Linked DNA regions of Homo sapiens: region 1 is linked to region 2. Evidence: promoter capture Hi-C in 16 types of primary human blood cells and fetal thymus (Javierre and others, 2016). All regions are on one chromosome and are shown on one strand. Each heading gives the region's core, a stretch centred on a gene start or on the middle of the fragment in contact. The rest is flanking DNA. Distances are from core to core; before and after follow the strand shown.

What was found. The method cuts DNA at HindIII sites, captures the fragments that hold promoters and counts their contacts. A CHiCAGO score of 5 or more calls a contact.
Region 1: a fragment that was not itself captured here is called in contact with the fragment with the promoter of PLEK2 in region 2 in 12 of 17 cell types (naive B cells, M0 macrophages, fetal thymus and 9 more); the score reaches 9.1 in naive B cells.

The regions. Positions count from the first base shown.
Region 1 is chr14:67,581,759-67,585,549 of GRCh38, forward strand. It overlaps PLEKHH1 (pleckstrin homology, MyTH4 and FERM domain containing H1), which reads left to right. Exons shown (of 29, transcript NM_020715.3): 24 at 311-452; 25 at 1,983-2,125; 26 at 2,237-2,366. It also overlaps a transcript of GPHN not described here. Among named protein-coding and RNA genes, the nearest start is that of PIGH, 17 kb to the right of the region's middle. RefSeq lists a silencer at 2,521-2,570. The HindIII fragment of the contact is 3,102 bases long and covers 72-3,173 here.
Region 2 is chr14:67,410,808-67,414,664 of GRCh38, forward strand. PLEK2 (pleckstrin 2) reads right to left here and starts at 1,358. Exons shown (of 9, transcript NM_016445.3): 1 at 1,211-1,358. The coding sequence starts at 1,252. It also overlaps a transcript of GPHN not described here. The HindIII fragment of the contact is 5,074 bases long and covers 1-3,685 here.

The sequences.
Region 1 (3,791 bases), core at 373-2,872, 170 kb after region 2:
TTGGACTCTTACCTCATCCAGTCCCCTAATCTATAACTCCAGGTACCAGATTTCCCTTACTAAATCCAGTAAGCTTAATGGTATCTTCAGAATGAACCATGCCCTCCTGTTGGTATGAGATCAGCATGACCCTGCATCTGCTCTGTGTCATACTCGGTTATATGTTTCTGGAGGCAATACAAAATAGGCTCATAAATAGTGGGAAAAGAGTACTTTATCTTTTTGGAAATAAAGGTAACAGACCCAGAGAAAGCCCCATCCCTGTTTGGAATCCCTGCTGAGTCCTGGTTTCTTATTCTCTTCTTTGTAGGCTGTACTTTCGCAGTCAAGTCAAAGGGGAGACGGACCGAGAACGGCTGCTCCTTGCCTCTCAAACCAGTAGAGAGATAGTGGCAGGGAGGTTTCCTATCAACAAGGAATTGGCTCTTGAGATGGCTGCCCTGATGGCCCAGGTAAGGTTCTGTTCAGGAAGCAGGAGGGTCGGGTTGCCAGCTTAGAATGAATGCACCATGCAGCCTGAAACACAGGAGAGATTCTGCAGATCCTGTGGTGCTCAGGAGAGGGCAGCTTTGCCATCTCTGGGATGGAAAGCAGCTGACTTCTACAGATCAGAGCTCCTCACTCACCGCAGATATAGGATGCGTGCAGATGGCTGGACTTGGAATCCAGAGACCTGGGTTTGAGTCCTATATACCTTCCAACTATGAGGTCTTAGCCAAGTCACTTCACTTCTCTATGCTTTAGTTTCCTTCTCAGTATACCAAAATAAAAAATACTTGGCCGGGAGCAGTGGCTCATGCCTGTAATGTCAGCACTTTGCGAGGCCGAGGCGGGCAGATCACCTGAGGCCAGGAGTTCGTGACCAGCCTGACCAGTGAAACCCTGTCTCTACTGAAAAAAAATAAAATAAAATAAAATAAAAATAAAAATTAGCTGGGTGTGGTGGTGGGCGCCTGTAATCCCAGCTACTCGGCAGGCTGAGGCAGGAGAATCACTTGTACCTGGGAGGCAGAGGTTGCAGTGAGCCAAGATCATGCCATTGCACTACAGCCTAGGCGACAACAGCAAAACTCTGTCTCAAAACAAAACAAAACAAACAAACAAACAAAAACCTCTGCCAGCCTCCACAGGGTTGTACTAAGTATGATACCTGGATAATTGTATCATGTAATGTATGTGGTAAACTTCATAAACCATCAGACCTTCTAAGTAGACTTAGGAAGAGGAACACACATTCAGACTTGGACTCTCCTTCCCATTATATTTAGAAGGCCATCTTGCCAAAGGTATCTGGGATACCTTCATGACTCCCATAAGAGAGTCTGACACCTACTATATACCCACAAAAATTAAAAATTAAAAATTTTTAAAAAAGAATAAGAATCTGGATTTACATGCTGGAAAGGAAGAGGAAACAGTAATAGTTGATCTTTATAAATATCAATAGGAATACTCTCTAGGAGGCCCTGTACTAAGCATATATGCATCCTCCATTGTAGTTTTTATTCCCACCTAATAGATGAGGAAATTGAAGCTCAGAGAGTTTAAGTAACTTGATCAGGGACACAAAGCTGGGATTTGCGCCAGGTGTCCAACTCCAAAGGCCACATTTGGAACACTCTGCTGTACTCTAGGATCTGTAGCATCTTCAATTCTATAGCCCATATTTTTGGACTGGAAGCCAGAATTTCCACATTGTTTTCCCTTGTCGGCTACCAATTAACTGTGTCTTTGGAAAAGGCACTTCACCTCAGCTGCAAAATCAAAGTTGGTCGGTGATCTCTAATATTCGAGGGCCCTAAGTTTGTTTCTCTAGTGTCTATAAAACTTGAGATGAAGCGTTTTTCTAAAGTATTTTTCACAACCACTCGCACCCCACCAATAGGGTAATAAAGAAATGGTTTATTTCACCTCTCAACAGCCCCCACCTGGCCCATCCACTGTCAGATTTTGACTGGTCTCTTCATATGCTTCTACCACAGGTAGAATATGGGGACTTGGAGAAGCCTGCCCTGCCAGGCCCTGGAGGCACATCCCCTGCCAAGGCTCAGCATCTTCTCCAGCAGGTCCTAGACAGGTTCCACCCCAGGCGCTATAGACATGGGGCCCCCGCTGAACAGCTGAGGTAGGTAGGCTACAAGGTCTTGCAGCAAGTCACTGTGGGGAGGTCTCAGGCCTGGAATGAAGACACGTCGGCACTTCATTGGCACTATTTCTCTCCATCTGCCCACACCAGGCACCTGGCAGATATGTTGACCACAAAATGGGCAACATTGCAAGGATGCTCCCCTCCTGAGTGCATCCGCATCTACCTGACCGTGGCCAGGAAATGGCCTTTCTTTGGTGCTAAACTTTTTGCTGCTCAGGTAAGTGCCAGTGGAAGGAGCTGCCCACACCCTTAGGTGTGTCCCCAACTGCTCATGTTTGAGCCATACCAATTTGCAGCCCCTACCTCCATACCAGTAACCACCAGAGGTCACTATCCCTCCACTGTTTCTGGCCTAGTCCAGCTTTCCACAGTCCAGAGCAGAATTGTGATTGCTTATCTTCATTTGTCCTTTGTTGACTGCCCCAAAAGAAAAGATGTGATCAACTAATTCACACACACAAAGATTCAGACTTGAAATAACAGCCCTCTCAAGAGTGCTTTCATTTTTTTTAAAGTTTGAAAGAACAATGTATAACCTAAACAAATACATCTCCACTGGTTTGACATGGCATACAGGGGAATCAAATTACTTAGCCAACAGTTAATTTCACCTCTGTATGAAGGCCAGGTGGCCAACAGTAATTTCAGAAGGAACTTTTCTTCACTGGGTGTCTGTTGTGCATAAACTTTATAGATAATTACAGCTCAAAGCTGGGCAGTGATCCTGTTTACTGAAGCCACAGATCGGAAAATGGCCATTCATTCATTCAACAAATAGTTGAGCTCCTACTATGTCCAGTGCTGGTTGTTTGAGGTTATAAGAAGTGAGAAAATCAGACACAGTCCTTGCCTTCCTGGAGCTTCCCATCTAGTGCAGGAGATGTATATTCATCAAATAATCGTATTCATTTTTTTCTCTATGTATTTAATATATATTTATAAGCCATCACAAATGCTATGAAGATGTACAGAGGTGTTATAAAGGCATATAACAGGGACCCACTTGGTCTGGGAGCTTAGGAAAAGCTTCTGAAAAAGGTGGCATGTCCAATGTCTATCTGCCTCCCTTTGGGTTAAGAGAGAGATTTTCTGGATTACCATACTGTAGTCCTGGCAGTGAAAATTAGTCATTACAGGAATGTCCACTAAATAGTCACTTTCTTACTGATAGGGCCTAAAGCCACAGGACTGCATTCTTGCTTTCCTATTTCTTTTACAGCACCTAGGAGATTGGCTGAAGTCAGAAGCACTTCGGCTTGGAGACTATAGGTGGAATGCCGTGTTTCCAAGACTAGGAGAAAACCAGCTGTTCCCCATTCCCCTAACAGAGCAGCTAGGGCTGGCCTCTATTCTGTAGCACAGAGCTTTCCATCCAGTGTGCTGTGGCAGCATGGGTTCTAGGGACATCAAAAGAATGATCGCCTCTGCCTTTGAGATGGTTAGTAGGTGGCCAGAGCCCCAAGGCCAAGGGTCTCCTGTCACAAGCAGCCTTGTCTATTTCCTGCATACACTGTACAAATATCATCTTTGTTTTCCAAGATGAGGTGGCTGGAAATCACTGCTTAGCAGATCCCTGGATGTGCCTTCTTTCTCAGAAAGTTATTATAGTTCAAAATCTCTAACTATGGATATATCTGATGGG
Region 2 (3,857 bases), core at 108-2,607:
TTGCTATGCCATCATAGCAGTATAAATGGTTAGTGTTAATGTCATTGTTCAAATTACGCTCTGTGTGGTGGCTCACGCCTGTTATCCCAGCACCTTGGGAGGCTAAGGTGGGCAGATGACTTAAACCCGGGAGTTCAAGACCTGCCTGGGAAACATGGCGAAACCCTGTCTCCACAAAAAAATACAAAAATTAGCTGGGCATAGTAGTGGATACCTGTAGTCCCAGCTACTAGGGAAGCTGAGGTGAGAGGACCACCTGAGCCTGGGAAGTCGAGGCTGTGGTGAGCCAGGATTGTGCCACTGCACTCCAGCCTGGGTGACCCTGTCTCAAAAAAAAAAAAAAAAAAAAAAGGTCAAATCAGGAAAAAATTTTGAAATAACAAACTTCCTTTTGCAGCTGCTCTTTTGTTCATCTTCTACCATAATCCCAGGCACTGAGTTTTTGTTTGCACTCGTTTGCCCTGGGCCACCTGGGGTGGTGGGGAAGGACTGAGGAGGGGAGGTCAGAACATGCAGTTCCTGTCCCAGCTATTACTGGCTCTGGAGCTCTGGGCAAGCTACTTCATCTTTCTGGTCCTCAGTTTCCCCGTCTGTAATAGAGTGATGTCAGTACCCACCGTGTATGGCACTGGGGAGGCAGTAAAGGTTTGGGTCAACCTGAGTGGGTCTGATCCCGATCCTGGCTCCACCACCCACTGCCTTCACCGCCCCGAGCAAGTTCCCTAACTCCTCTGGGCTTCGTTTTCCCCCTTGATGAAAGCAGGGCTGCTGGGAGGATGACATGAGACAATATCCAGGGCTGGCCAACAGTAAGTGCTTAAGACACATAGTAGCATTCCTCCTTCACAGGTTGTAAATTACAGAGCACGCCTATATTATCTTAGTAAATATTATTTAAATATCATACCATTCATAATATTTTAACAAGTTTTAATTAAGACACACGCTTCAGTACCCCTGCCCCGACTCCATACTGCGCTAACCAAGTGGGATTCTCCTCCTTGCCTGTGCGCTGAGCCACCGCTTACCCCGCGTCCCCTCGGACATGCAGCTCTGCCCATCAGGGCCACAGGCGGCCCGGTCCCACCATGGGGGTTGGGGATGGGAACCAGAGCATGCCCGTTCCGGGGCGCGCGTCTGGCCCCGCTCTAGGGAGCCGCGTCGGCGGGGCCCCACCCGGGCAATGTCCCGAAGCTCGACGCGCACTCACCCTCTTGACCAGGAAGCCCTCCTTGAGCACGCCGTCCTCCATGTCGCCGCCCGCACGCCAGGGCCACCCCAGGTGCGCCTTCCCCGCGCCTCGCGCTCCTCGGCACCCGCGCAGCCCGCGCAGTCCGCGCCCACGGCGCCCAGGAAGCAGCTCCGACGCGGCAGGGCGACGCCTCCCTGGCGCGTGTCCAGAGCCTGAGGCCCCGGGGCAGGAAGTCAGACCAAGTCGGGATTTCTGACGTGACGTTTCCACCCAAAGGTGCTCCAGGGTCGGTGGTTGGTCCTCCAGGTACAGAGCGGCCAACCCCGCCCCATCCAGGTGCGCCCCGCGCCCCTCACTGTTCCAGTCTCTCTGCTCAGCGTCCTTCGCCAGGTGCTTCCCGGGCACTTAGCGCATTGCCCTCGAGGAACGCTTATCGAATTGAACATAACCGACAGGACTCCAGGATTTGGAGCCATTCCTGAGCTCATTGCAAGTAGGAGATGGGACAGTGGGTGAGCCGAAACTGGTATGGGAATTTTATCCTGGCCTCTGATGGGGGCAGAGAAGACCTCTCAGTAACAGGAAGGTCACAGTTTTAAGGCGGCAGGCACAGTTTGCAGGGCCCCCTGTCCGCAGGATATACCCCGCTCCCTCAAAAAAGATGAAGCCGAAAATTCCATCATTAAGGACAAAATTTAAGGGGGCACCAAGGAGTCCAGTAACCTAGACAAATTATATATAGAGAGAGATGATTGGTTTTTTGGGGTTTTTTGTTTGTTTTTTGAGACAGGGTCTTTCTCTGTCACCCAGGCTGGAGTGCAGTGGTGTGATCATAGCTCACTGCAGCCTTAAACTCTGGGCTTAAGATCCTCCTGCCTCAGCTCCCCAAGTAGCTAGGACTACAGGAGTGCACCACCATGCCTGGCTGGTTTATTTTTATTTTTCGTAGAGATAGGGTGTTGCTATGTTGCCCAGGCTGGTCTTGATTCCTGGCCTCAAGCAATCCTCCGGCCTGGGCTTCCCAAAGTGCTGGGATTACAGGCAAGAGCCACCGTGTAAGACCTAGAAAAATAATATTTTAATGCATTTTTTAAAATCAAAATTAATGTCAAAAAATCCACGATGAACAAAATGCTAACATTTTAAATAGATAGGATCAACAACAATGTTCTATCAGGCCATATTGGAGCCTGGAACAGAAGGAAACTCAGTCAAATAGTACTGATTCTGTCTAACAATCCTTAGAACACAGTCACACATTTTTTTAAAATTTATTTTTATTTATAGAGACAGGGTCTCACTATATTGTCCAGACTGGTCTCGAACTCCTGGGCTCAAGCAGTCCTCCTGCCTCAGCCTCCCAAAGTGCTGGGATTGTGGGCATGAGTCATGGGGCCGGTCCATATTATTTGTGCTCCAGTTTGAAGGGCCCTGTCAGGACTCTTCACCAGGCATGGGAAAGGCCCTCAGATGCCTGTAAGGGAAGAGAAGGCTCTAGAGAGGAAGAAGGTGAACCAGCTTGTGGAAGGCGGGGGGTGCCTTTCAGAACCAGACTGAAGCCAGCTCCCAGGCCAGTCCCTGCCCTGGAGCTCTTGACACAGTGTTGCTTCTACATGTCTGTAGTAGACATATTACATCCCCCCAACCCCACTCCCACCTGCCAGCCCCAAGGAAAACTCGCAGGGTCTGGGTCACTGCGTGCCAGCCCAATGGCCCACTCTAGCCTTCTGCACTAACTGGCCTTCAGACTTCCCAGGAAGCCCCAAAGCAGTGGGGCTTCCATTCCAATTCAGAATGAACATCAGCTGGTCACCTTCTGAAGCCAGGCCTGTAGTAGTAGGTGCTAGGTTTTATCTAAAGTACAACAACCCCATGAGGTGTTTATTATGTCATTTTCCAGTCAAGGAAACTGAATCCAAGTAGTTAAATAACTTGCCCAAGGTTATGCAGCTCCAGGGCATTGCAAATACTCTTGCCTCCTAAGGAATTGTCCCAGCTCTGAAACCTAGCTGGGCTGAAAGCCAGGACTTGAGAGGTTGAGCTGGGAAGTTCTCATCCTCTTCGGCTCTAACTGTGGTCTATCCATCTCCTTCCTCAAAGAGGCTGTCTTGGCCCCACCCAGACACAATCTTCTGAGGCTTAGAAGAAGTGGCATTTTCTTTGGCAGGAGGGGTTCTTGAATGAATTCACAGAAATGGGAATGGGAAAGAGATGGATACCTTCTCCTGGCAGGGCTCCTGCCAGGAAGAAGTTAAGGCACACCTAGAACCTGCTTCCTGTCCTAGGAAACCCCTGGTCCAGCCCACCCTGCCTGACTCACTGGATCTGGGGCATGAGTCATACCCCTTCCTTCCCCAGGCTGTGGTGGCTGAGCCACCAGCCCACCAGGGAACCATGATGACATAAGCCCAACTCACCCATAGGGAAGAGGATGGAGACAGAAGGAAGCAGACAGCAGTAAACAGCTGGGGGAGGGGGCAGGGACGAGCAAGAAGCTTTCAGAGAGACACCCCTCCTCTCCCTCTCAGGCCTGGAGGCTGATGTGGAAGGGTCCCTGGCCCTCTCAGCTCCTCCCCTTTTTGTCCCGAAGGGACAGGGACAGATAATGCCTAGGGTGCTGAGTTGCAGAAAACTATTAGGTCTGTGTTTAAGTATAGGTGACTCA